Regions from separate parts of the Homo sapiens genome. Here regions 2 and 3 are each linked to region 1. The links are contacts of gene promoters, found by promoter capture Hi-C in blood cells and fetal thymus (Javierre and others, 2016). All regions are on one chromosome and are shown on one strand. Each heading gives the region's core, a stretch centred on a gene start or on the middle of the fragment in contact. The rest is flanking DNA. Distances are from core to core; before and after follow the strand shown.

Evidence for each region. Contacts are between HindIII fragments. The CHiCAGO score rates a contact against its expected background, and 5 or more counts as called.
Region 2: a contact is called between the fragment with the promoter of KIF2A here and the fragment with the promoter of SREK1IP1 in region 1, in 5 of 17 cell types (naive CD8 T cells, non-activated CD4 T cells, total CD4 T cells and 2 more). The highest score is 7.8, in naive CD8 T cells.
Region 3: a contact is called between a fragment that was not itself captured here and the fragment with the promoter of SREK1IP1 in region 1, in 3 of 17 cell types (naive CD4 T cells, naive B cells and total B cells). The highest score is 6.2, in naive CD4 T cells.

The regions. Positions count from the first base shown.
Region 1 is chr5:64,766,368-64,770,321 of GRCh38, forward strand. SREK1IP1 (SREK1 interacting protein 1) reads right to left here and starts at 2,324. Exons shown (of 5, transcript NM_173829.4): 1 at 2,138-2,324. The coding sequence starts at 2,150. CWC27 (CWC27 spliceosome associated cyclophilin) reads left to right here and starts at 2,563. Exons shown (of 14, transcript NM_005869.4): 1 at 2,563-2,821. The coding sequence starts at 2,780. It overlaps LOC124900985 (a long non-coding RNA gene), which reads right to left and starts at 2,129. Exons shown (of 4, transcript XR_007058787.1): 1 at 588-2,129. RefSeq lists silencers at 1-12, 2,075-2,369 and enhancers at 1,608-2,334, 1,706-2,905, 2,057-2,146, 2,297-2,616, 2,335-3,059. The HindIII fragment of the contact is 4,415 bases long and covers 1-2,665 here.
Region 2 is chr5:62,303,878-62,307,831 of GRCh38, forward strand. KIF2A (kinesin family member 2A) reads left to right here and starts at 2,329. Exons shown (of 21, transcript NM_001098511.3): 1 at 2,329-2,659. The coding sequence starts at 2,596. RefSeq lists a silencer at 2,033-3,062. The HindIII fragment of the contact is 9,341 bases long and covers 1-3,954 here.
Region 3 is chr5:62,461,729-62,465,682 of GRCh38, forward strand. All of the region lies in intron 5 of IPO11 (importin 11), which reads left to right. Among named protein-coding and RNA genes, the nearest start is that of IPO11, 51 kb to the left of the region's middle. The HindIII fragment of the contact is 2,418 bases long and covers 1,104-3,521 here.

The DNA.
Region 1 (3,954 bases), core at 1,074-3,573:
TTCCTCTTTTACCTACCCACACTGAATCAATCACCAACTCCTAGTGACTCTACCACCAAAAATGTATCTTCAATTTATCCACTTCTCTCCTTACCTATTGAGACCACATCTCAGCCACACATCATTATAACTCACCAGAATTACTCCTAACTGGTAAACTTTGTCTCCAATCTACTTTCTAGCCAGAATTATCTTTCCAAAATGTGAATCTGCTTTAAAATCCTTAAATGGCTTCCTGCCATCTGTAGGATAATGCCAAACCTCTTGTCATGGCCTACAGGTCCTTAAAGAGCTGGAAACTACCTTGTAAGTTATCCTATACGATGGCAAAATGAATGAAGTACACAGTCTAGAGGAACCAGACTGACTTCTTGCTTTCCAGCTGTCTCATAATAGGCAAATTACTTGATTTCTTTGTCCCTCAGTGTCCTCATCTGTAAAATGGGAATATTAATACTCATTTCACAGTGCAGTTGTGAATATTAAATGAGATAGAATACAATGTTTGATATAGTATCTGACATATTTGACTTATAAATATTAGTCAATATTAGCTACAGTTACTATCTACTTAATTTCTCACTTACCTCCCATTTGTATTTGAGTTCTATCCACAGAAAACATCTTTCATTCTGACATATTTGACACATAAATATTAGTCAATATTAGCTACAGCTACTACCTCTGTACTTAATTTCTCACTTATCTCCCATCTGTATTTGAGTTCCATCCATAGAAAACATCTTTCATTTCCTCTTTTCACATATTTCCTCTTCCTTTACGTATCCAGTTCCTCCGACTGCAGTCTCCTCTCCCTTCAAGCCACCCCTCCTACAATTCAGATCTCCTCCTAAGTGCTACCTCCTTTGGAAAGTCCTTCTGCCCATCCTGTATGTGTTTGGTGCCCTTACTTTGTGCTAAGGTCTTGTATTTTCCTTGCCATGGCACTTGTCCCACTTTCTGTAAATTTCTCTCTCTTCACTGCTAAATTCTAAGTTCTGTGTGAAGCGTAACCATGTCTACCTTGCTCACCACTGTATTTCCAATGCCCAGTACCAGTGCCTGGCACACAGTAGGCTTAATAAAGAGTGTACATTTCCTCTCTCACAGCTCCAGATGTACTCCTCCGCAAACTTCAGTTAGTACAAAAGCACAGTGTTCCAATAACAGCTATCTGTAGAAGGAGGTTCAAAAAGGCTGCCACAGAATAAAGAACCTGGTCAAATAATACTGGGAAGTGCAGGTTTAAACAAAGTTAGGGTTCTGAACCATAGTAATTCTATAGTTCATAGTAATTCTATAGCAATTCATAGTATTCTATTCTAATAGAATAGAATCTTTTCTATTACTAAAGTGCGCTGGGAATTTCCAAGTTGGGAGGTGGGGTGGAGAAGTGTGTATTTCTGAAAATGTCTCCTGCAATCAGTGTTCTGCAGTGGCAAAGCTGGTTTGAGGAGATGCTTTCCGCTACTAGAACTTCCAAGTAAGCTGGTAGTTGAGGACGAGAAAATCTTTTAAGTAATTATTCTGCAGAGTTCACCGTTTTTAGGTCAGTAACTTCTGGACATAGAATTTGAGAGTTAGAAGAAATCTTATATATAATTCAACAAAGCTCCTTCTTTTTATAAGGAAACTGAGGCCCAGAAGCACAAAGCGACCAATCTATGGCCACGGAGCAGCTACATACAACAGGAAGAGCTAGGAGTAGAACCCGCACACCCGGTGGGTCCTAGCGACTTCTAAGACAAACGATGCCTCCGGTTACCTGGGTCGGCCAAGTGTTCCCACTTCAAGTTTTAGTTTTAAGCCATACCACAGTTAAGGTAGTTTTTCTCGGCCGCTTGCCCCCTTAGGCCTACAGTTACAGTCTCTCCCTCCTCCCTCCCTTCCACAATACACTTTCCCTGTAATCCCAAGCAGCTGGGGCTTGGCTCCTGGGGGGAAGATAGTTATTTTCTTTCCTTCAGAGTTTATGTTTGGAGTGTAAACTTTTTCATGTAAACAAAACAAACCTGTGAATTTTAAGGCCTCCGCCTAAATCCCCATGGGCGCTGCTCCGTACACGCCGCACCCTACCCTACCCTCCCTTGCGCTCCCTTCGGAGCTCGGACGCAGAGGCCCTGTAATTGCTCCTTACCTGGGACTGCCATGACGGTGGTAAGAGGGGTAACTCGAGCCTCTGGCTTTCGAAAAGGCGCTTGCTTCCCGCCAGCTGTGAGAACAAGGCACAGTCAAAGCGGCGTTTTCCTTCCCCCAGCGCAGCAGCACCCTCGCTACGGTCGGGAAGGGCCTGTACGCCTCTAGCGACGGCAGAACCAGTAGATGCGGATGCAGTTTCCGGACGAGTCATATTGCAGAAGACACATGGTCCGAACCATTACTGATAGTTTTGGAGGGGGAGTTAGTTTGATCTGCACACGAGAGTAGTGTAAACACCGCCAACACTTATGAAGTGTCCCTTCTAATATTGTAATACAAATAACATAAATAACATTAAGCTATGGTAACTTTACGGACTTTTCTCGTTCCCTGGAGTACATTGGAATAACCCTTCTCAGGGTTAGCGGTGCTCGGGTCCGGTAACAACATGGCGGCGTCCGTGAGGGGCTCCTTTGGGCAGGGGTAGTGTTTGGTGTCCCTGTCTTGCGTGATATTGACAAACTGAAGCTTTCCTGCACCACTGGACTTAAGGAAGAGTGTACTCGTAGGCGGACAGCTTTAGTGGCCGGCCGGCCGCTCTCATCCCCCGTAAGGAGCAGAGTCCTTTGTACTGACCAAGATGAGCAACATCTACATCCAGGAGCCTCCCACGAATGGGAAGGTGAGAGCCTCATCTAGGGAACTTGGGGTCCTGGGATCCCCAAAGTGAGATTTCCCGGATTTGGGGTGGGGAGTGGGTTTCAGGATCTCGTGGTAGGAAGAGACCACGAGAAGTGTTGTCTTTACTCCTGCATGTGGACAATGTTGCATCGAAACACTGATGTTGGTACTTTTCAGGATGTACTTGAAGAAGTCAAGTGGAGATTTCTCTACCTACCAGCATTCCGGTCCTATTTAATGCTTTAACCCAACTCATGCAGCCGATTTCTGGGGTCTTAGGTTTTTAAACAGACATTTTTGAGTTTGATATATTCTTTGCTTAACTAAGGTCATTCATTCTCCATTTCTTCTACAATCATTAATTGAACGCCTGCGAGGCACTGGGCACTGTACTAGGCGCCGGAGATACAAAGATGGATGGGTAAGGTAGTTGTTTTCCCGGAAAAGCTTATAGTTTAGTTTGTGAGACAGACAGGTAAACAAAAGCCTGTATGTCTGATAAGCGTGCTTGTGGAGAAGAGACCAGGTTGCTATGGCGGTACTGAGTAGTGAACAACTGGGGAAGTTAGGAAAAGCCTCATGGAAAAGATATCTTTTGAGCTGGTTTTAAAACCTGAGATGACTGTCAGTCAGAGAAAGTGGGAAATGGGGACTATTACCACATTAGAATGGGGAAAGGTTTCTCTGATTGATTTGATGGCTAATGTATGCCAATTCCCATCCAAGATGTTTGTATGCTGTACAAGGCAGAAGAGTCTGTTGTGGAATAAGTGTCACCTGAATTCTTAAATTGAGACCTAGCTTATATCACATATGAAATTTGATGAATCAGCATATTGGAGAAAATGAGATTGGAAGTATATAGTTGAATTAAGATAAGCTAAATTTACACAACATACCATCCTGTTTGTTACATGATTGCATCATAAATAATTTATACAGTCTTTTATTCATTGACATTTGATAATGTAATGAGAGCAATTTAAAAGTGAAACCAAAAATGCTGTAATTCCCAGCAAAAATGTAATGGATATTTTATGGGCAGACCAATTCTTTCAATTCTTTGTTTGAACTTCTCCTGGGCATTGTAGATTAGTATGTCCATCCCACCCCTCACCTATCTTATTTAATATC
Region 2 (3,954 bases), core at 1,079-3,578, 2.5 Mb before region 1:
CTTATAAAGGAAAGGTTTTGTGTTTGTTAAGTGTTATGTCATACATTTTTATGGAGCAAAACAATGTACATATTTTAAAAATACCTTTTATATGGATTAAAGGTTAAGATTAACCATATAAACCACAGAGTGTAAGGTATGTGTCAGCAACCACGATACAAAATAATATTTTATTGGCTGGACGTGTTGGCTCACGTAATCTCAACACTTTGGGAGGCTGAGGCGGGAGGATCATGAGGTCAGGAGATCGAGACCATCCTGGCTAACACGGTGAAACCTCGTCTCTATTTTAAAAATACAAAAAATTAGCTGGGCGTAGTGGCACACGCCTGTAGTCCCAACTACTTGGGAGGCTGAGGCAGGAGAATAACTTGAACCTGGGAGGTGGAGGTGGCAGTGAGCTGAGATCATGCCACTGCACTCTAGCCTAGGCACGACAGAGTTAGACTTCGTCTCTAATAATAATAATAATAATATTTTATGAAACAATGTTAACTTTGAGCTGTATAGCTTGATTTCTTTGCATTCTTTATAAAGTATAAATAAAATATAAATAGATGTTTTATACCTCAGTTGCAGAGACATCAGAAAATGAATTCTAGACAGGAGCTTGAAGAGTTCAGATAAAACTCCCAAAATTATAGAAAAAATAAAAACTAAACCCTGATTTGGTCAAATTTCACTTGAAACCGGGGTACTCAAGTGTGTCATTTCTGGAATGTAAAAGAAGTTATTTTCCACATTGTCTATCCAGTGTGGTTTTTTTTCCATAGAAATTATATGCACTTTAGAATGGATTCAATAGAATTGTTCTTTTGACAGGTATACCTTCAATATGTTCAAGCTACAGATGAAGCCAGTCTTTTAACAGTTTTTTAAGGACCTACATGATTACTTACATTAGATAGAAAACTCTAGGCACACATATATCCACATAAGCATTGATGTATATATCCAGTTTCCAATTTTAAAATTTTAAATTGTATATTTGTAGTTATTGTTACAGGGAGATTATCAATGACTAGGGAAGGCCGGGCGCAGTGGCTCATGCCTGTAATCTCAGCACTCTGGGTGGTGGAGGCGGGTGGATTACCTGAGGTCAGGAGTTTGAGACCAGCCTGGCCAACATGGTGAAACCCCGTCTCTACTAAAAATACAAAAATTAGCCAGGCGTGGTGGCGCGGGCCTGTAATCCCACCTACTCGGAAGGCTGAGGCGTGAGAATCGCTTGAACACAGGAGGCAGAGATTGCAGTGAGCGGAGATCGCGCCACTGCACTCCAGCCTGAGCGACAGAGCAAGACTCCCCCTCAAAAACAAACAAAACAAAACAACAACAACAAAAAACAATGACTAGGGAAAGTAGGCCATGAAAAGTGTTGTTTCCAACCTATCAATTGCCAGTACTACAAGCAGGAGTTAGACGTTTGGAGGTTTTCACACGGTGCTATAAATACAGTTTCCAGGGCCCCGGTACACGTGGCCTTCCTGCTCTGCCAGGATGGAGAGTCTTGCTTTCCACATTGCTGATGTGGTCAGACTAATTAAATTATTGCAAAAAGACACATTCCCTAGTCAACCTTATGTGTCTGCCTTCTTCCCTTGAGTCACAGTTGTTGGCTTTACAGGCCAAGGCAAGTAAGTCTTGAACCCTCAGCAGAAACAGGGCACCAGCATCGGATGCCTCATAACCTGAACAGTTAAGGACGCCCCACCACAGAGCTTCTTTCTGAGTGTGATAAACTATAAGGCAAGACTGTAAAGGGGTGGATCTTCATTTCGATTTAGGGTAGGTGACACCTCAAGGGTGTTTCTTCCCTTCCAGCGTAACTGGATGGGAAACCTACACCAAGTGTGCTTGGGAGGGCTGCTTGGGTCAGCTACCTGTAAGTGGAAATAGGGGGTGCCACCTTCCGATGAAAACCCGGATCCCGTACTGTCAACGGAGGGCCCTTGAATTCACATCCCTCAGCCCGCTAGAAAGCCCCTGAAACCACGTGGCCTTTAACCCATTCCGGCAACAGCGCCAATTCCCGGAAGCGAGAGGGCAAGAAAGCTCGGCGCGACGCTTCCCGCGTCTTCTAGGCCGCGCGCTGAAATCAAACGCGACGCCGGCTAGCTGTGGGCCGGGCCGAGCGCTCAACGCTCCAGCGGCTGGGTAAGCCGCGGCCGCCGCCCACCCCGCTGCAGAGCTGGGCGGGGCCGCCTGGAGGCAGCGGGGAGAGGCCAGCCGAAAAGGAAGAAGAGACGCCGGAGGCGCGCTCTGCGCAGGCGCGCGGCGCCCCGCCTCCCCAGCGTCGGCTCCCCGGCGGGCGGTGCGGGCCCTCCCACTCTACCCCGCGCCGTCTCACGGCCCCGGCCCTAGCTTCACCCCGACTACCCGGCGTGCGCGTCCTCCTGCCGGCCTGCAGGCCCGGGGCCTCCGCCTGCTTCCCCACAGCTGCTCCTTGCGGCCCCGCTTGCGTTCACGCTGTCGCCCGGGCCGGCGCGGCCGCGGGCAACCGCTCCCCCTCCCACACCTACCCCGCCCCCTCCCCGCCTTTTCCGCCCTCCGGTCCCCCTCCCTCGGCCCGCTGCTGCTGCTCCAGATGAGGTGATGGCAACGGCCAACTTCGGCAAGATCCAGATCGGGATTTACGTGGAGATCAAGCGCAGCGATGGTGAGCCGCGCTGCCAGCCCCGCTGGCCCGCTCGGCCCCGTGTTCGGGTGTGCACGGAGGGGACGCGGGCGCCGGCCGCCTCATTGATTGCTTCGCCGGGCTGTGGGGGTGGGAAGGCGGCGGCCGCGGCGCTTTTGTGTGTGGCGTGTGTGCCAGTGAGGCCGGCTTGGGGTCCGCCCGGGCGCTGCTGCAGTTCTCCGGATCGGGCCGCGGGGGAGGGAAGCCGGGTGGGGAAAGGGCCCGGGTGTCGAGGGTCGCGTCTCCGGGGGTCTCTGGGCGAGGGCCGCTCGCTCCTCCTCCCGCAATCTCCAGCCCCCCCCCGGGGACACCAGCCCGGGAGGGAGCGGGCTTCGTTAGGGATGACCCTGCCTCGCGCTTCCCCTTGGTCTTTGCATTTTACCGGCTTGGCCTCTGACGGGGATGGGGATGGGGGTGGGGGAGCGGGAAGACCAGCGATTTCACATTTAGAGAACCGACTGCTGGTCGGAGGCCGAGATGGGGGGAAAGAGCCAGTTCCGTCGCCTTAAACTGCCGTCTGGTTGTCAGGCCTCCCCGGTTTCGTCGTCGACCATGCTGCTTTCTTTTTTGCCACTTCTTGGGAGAAAAATGTGGAGAATATCGCGCTGAGCCATGAATAAGGGTGGGGGAGCAATGGGAAGAAATATTCGATGGGCTTCTCCAAGGTGATGAGACTGTAAAGGGAATGATAGGGGATGGGCAGAGTCAATGCGAGGCACTGCTGAGAGAGTGGGGGTGGGCGACCGGATGTTGATATTTTCACACCCTCGGGAGAGGTAACTGAGAAAAGTGTAAGGCGAGGTGAAGACACATGCTTCATTTTTTTTTTTAAGAGCCTTAGGCTTATGTATCTTTCTCTAGGTTTCTCTTGGGGAAAATGGTTTATGACACTAGCTTGGGGTGTGGAGTGAGATACGCCAGCCAGACTGGAAATAATTCATATTGTAAAGGAATAAATGCACGGAGGGAGATAAGTAAAATTATTTTCTTTCGGTACCAATATTGAAAGAACGAGAGATGTGTGATAATCTCGAGTTGAGCAGTGTTCCTGACTCCATCTCTCATACCGATTCCTTTTTTTTTTTTTTTGAGACGGATTTTCACCCAGGCTGGAGTGCAGTGGTGCGATCTCGGCCCACTGCAACCTCCGCCTCCCGTGTTGAAGCTATTCTTGTGCCTCAGCCTCCTGAGTAGCTGGGATTACAGGCGTTGTCACCACACCCAGCTAATTTTTTGTATTTTTAGTAGAGACGGGGTTTCACCATGTTGACAAGGCT
Region 3 (3,954 bases), core at 1,063-3,562, 2.3 Mb before region 1:
GTGCCAGGCATCTTATGTGCTTTTCGTATCTGTAGTCCTTAAAGTACAGGTTAAGTACTTCTTATCTGCAATGCTTGGGAACAGAAATGTTTCAGATTTTTTTCAGATTTTGTAATATTTACATTATACTTACGTTGAACATCTCAAATGTGAAAATCTGAAAATTGAAACACTCTAGTGAGCATTTCCCTTGAGCATCGTGCTGGTACTCAAAGTTAAGGATTTTGAAGCAAATACTTCGGGTTTTCAGATTTGAGATATTTTAGCCTGTAGTTCTCTCATATTAAGTATTACTTTCTAGGGACAGAAAGAGGGAAGAATTAATTAATAGATCGAGATCTAACTTTGCCATTAATATCTATAAATCTTACTTATTTTTGTGAGAAGTAGAGATGAAAATTTCAAAATTGAAAGTTGCTTAAGGTGAAATAGAGTGGAATTACTGAATTACTGAACTTTCTAACACATTTTTAGAGTCAAATGATAAATAGAAAAGGAGATGATTTTATGGAACAGAATAGAATTTTTTTTTAATGACTTTGAGTCCACCATGTTTAAATGCTTCCTTTTATTCAGTCTTGTCACAGTAACAACCTTTGGTATAGTATTCAGAGATGTTCTTTGGTACTTTTTATTCTTTGTTTTGTAGGTGAGTGGGGAGGATTTTATGTTGAATATGTCTACTGTGATTTGCATTGTGTGTATGCAAGTGGTAGAATTCTGCAAAGAGATATTCTGGTAACAGAAGCAATGCCTGAAAAAAAAAAAAGAACAGTTTTGCCCCTTTGCTACCATTATTAAAAAAAATACTGTTTTTATTTTTTACAGACAGGGTTTTGTCTCCCAAGCTAGAGTTCAATGGTACACTCATAGCTCACTGCAACCTCAAGCTCCTGGGCTCAAGCAATCCTCCTGTCTCAGCCTCCTGAGTAGCTGGGATTACAGGCATGAGCCACTATGCCCGGCCACTATAAAATACTTCAGAAAAATCTGACACAATTTCAAAATATGTGGTTATGTAGGGTGGCAAATTCTCCCTTAATGTTTTCTTTCTTGAGCCTGTGCCTGTTTTATTTGGCTGACTCTTTTTTTTTTCTTTTTCAAGCTTAATCTTACTTTTAATTGAGGAACTAGGGGATAGTTACTGTCACCATCCTTTTTTTTTTTTCAGTGAGTCTGGCATGTAGTGGTAGTGGGGGGTATTGAGAATTAGATAAAAGGTCTATGGCTCTTACGACTAGTGAATGGGACTAGTTCTAATTTACACACATATATTACTTATATGTATATGAATATATGTGTATATATAAGAAAAACATTCAATTTATTTTTAGAGACAGTGTCTCACTCTTGTCCTGGCTGGAGTGCTGTGGTGTGATCATAGCTCACTGCAGCCCTGAACTCCTGGGTTCAAATGATCCTCCCACCTCAGCCTTGCAAGTAGCCGAGATTACAGGCATGTGCCACCATGTCCAGCTAATTTGTTAAGAAACATTTTGTAGAAAAAGGGTCTCACTTTGTTGCCTAGGTGGGTCTTCAACTCCTTACCTCAAGTGATCCTCTTGCCTTAGCCTCCCAAAGTGCTAGGATTACAGTTGTGAGATACCATGCCCAGGGTGTACTTTATATTTTGATATCAAAAGGTTTAAACAGGGCCAGGCATGGTAGCTTATGCCTGTAATCCCAGCACTTTGGGAGGCTGAGGCAGGAGGATCACTTGAGCCCAGGAGTTTGAGACCAGGCTGGGCAACACAGTGAGATCCTATCTCTACAAAAAATAAAAATAAATATATAAATTAACCTGGTGTGGTGCATCCCTGTAGTCCCAGCTACTCAGGAGGTTGAGGTGAGGGGATTGCTTGAGCCCAGGAGATTGAGGCTGCAGTGAGCCGTGATTGCGCCACTGCACTCTAGCCTGGGCAACAGAGTGAGACTCTTTGTCTCAAAAAAAAAAAAAAGTTTAAACAGAACTTAGTTATACCAAAAATGTTTATCTCTTTTATACAGTGCAGTTAATTGTTAGTTATTGTATTAAGAGACATTAGAGCATAGAAGATAATATATACTGATATACTGAACATACCTTTTACTTCTGTATTTTTTTTTTTTTTTAATGACAGAGTCTCGCTCTGTTACGCAGGCTGGAGAGCAGTGGGGTGATCTCAGCTCAGTGCAACCTCCACCTCCTGGGTTCAAGCATTTCTCCTGCCTTAGCTTCCCGAGTAGCTGGGATTACAGGCACGTGCCACCACGCCCAGCTAATTTTTGTATTTGTAATAGAGACGGCGTTTCGCTGTGTTGGCCAGGCTGGTCTCGAACTCCTGACCTCAGGTGATCCACCTGCCTCGGTCCCCCAGAGTGCTGGGATTACAGGCGTGAGCCACCGCATCTGGTCTATGTGTTTGTTTTTGGTGGTTTTTTTTTTTTTTTTTTTTTTTTTGAGATGCAGTCTTGCTCTGTCGCCAGGCTGGAGTGCAGTGGCGAGATCTCTGCTCTCTGCAACTTCTGCCTCCCGGATTCTCCCGCCTCAGCCTCCCGAGTAGCTGGGACTACAGACGTGTACCACCATGCCCAACTAATTTTTGTGTTTTTAGTAGAGACAGTGTTTCACGATGTTGGCCAGGATGGTCTCGATCTTTTGACCTTGTGATCCTCCTGCCTTGGCCTCCCAAAGTGCTGGGATTACAGGTGTGAGCCACTGTGCCCAGCTGGTTATTTTTTATTGTTGTTGTTTTCTTCGTTTTTTTTTGTTTGTTTTTGAGGCAGGGTCTCACTTTGTCACCCAGATTGGAGTGCAGTGGTGTGATCTCGGCTCACTGCAGCCTCCCTTCCTGGGCTCAAGGCATCCTGGCATCCTCCCGCCATAGCTCCCCAAGTAGCTGGAAGTATAGGCGCACCCCACCATGCCTGGTTAATTTTTTTTGTACTTTTTATAGAGACCGTGTTTCGCCATGTTGCACAGGCTGGTCTCCTGACCCCAGGTGATCATCTGCCTCTGCCTCCCAAAGCACTGACATTACAGGCATGAGCCATCGCGCCTGGTCTGAGCATACCTTTTAAATGAGTTCAAGTGACTTCAGATAATGGCGACACAAAAAATTTCAATATAAAGTCCTTTTAAACAATTTTAATCTATACAGACATTAATGTTAACAGGTAGTTTTAAGGAGATGCAAAGAAAAGCTATAAAATTACTCAAAATGTCGTTTTGTTGTAAGCAAGATATCGGTTTAAAGTATAATAGTTTTTTGGTCTTATTTGAAATTTGGATATGGCACCCTTTGAGTTTTTGTTTTCTTACAAAAAGACACAGTACAAAACGGATCTACAAATTATAGCCAAGGCTATAGATTTCATTTTTGGGGAGTTGAAATATTTGCTACAATAAGAAATTTTACTGTAGTTTAAAATTTAATTTTAGGTGTTTTGTAGAATTCTTACCTCTTCTGCGTCTAAATCCTTCTGTTCGTATTCTTTCACTTTCTTCTGACAAAATATTTTAATGATGTATGTGTTGGGAAAGCTTAGGGTGTTGTATATTACACAGTAAGTACAATAAAATTTAGGATGATAGATATTTTTTCAATTCTGGATATGTATTTCAGTCTTTTATTTTCCAAAAGGACTTACTAAGAAAAATACGAATTCATTTTATGGTTTACTGAAGTTATAAGTAAAGCATGCAAGTTTGTTGAAATAAAGCTTTTTTCCCACTTTTTAAATATTATTTCCCTTCTATCAGAGTGAATGTTTGCTTCTCTGCTATAATACTACTTCATGGGAAAATGTCACTTTCAAACTCTTTTTATGATACAGTGGTTTGTGTTGTAACACTATGAATTGAGAGAATGATCACTAAAGTATTTTGGCTGTAATAAAACATTAGTATTCAACAGTTTGATTTTACTCTTTGAAATATTGCATATATACTTGAGAATATGCTAAAGTAGCTTA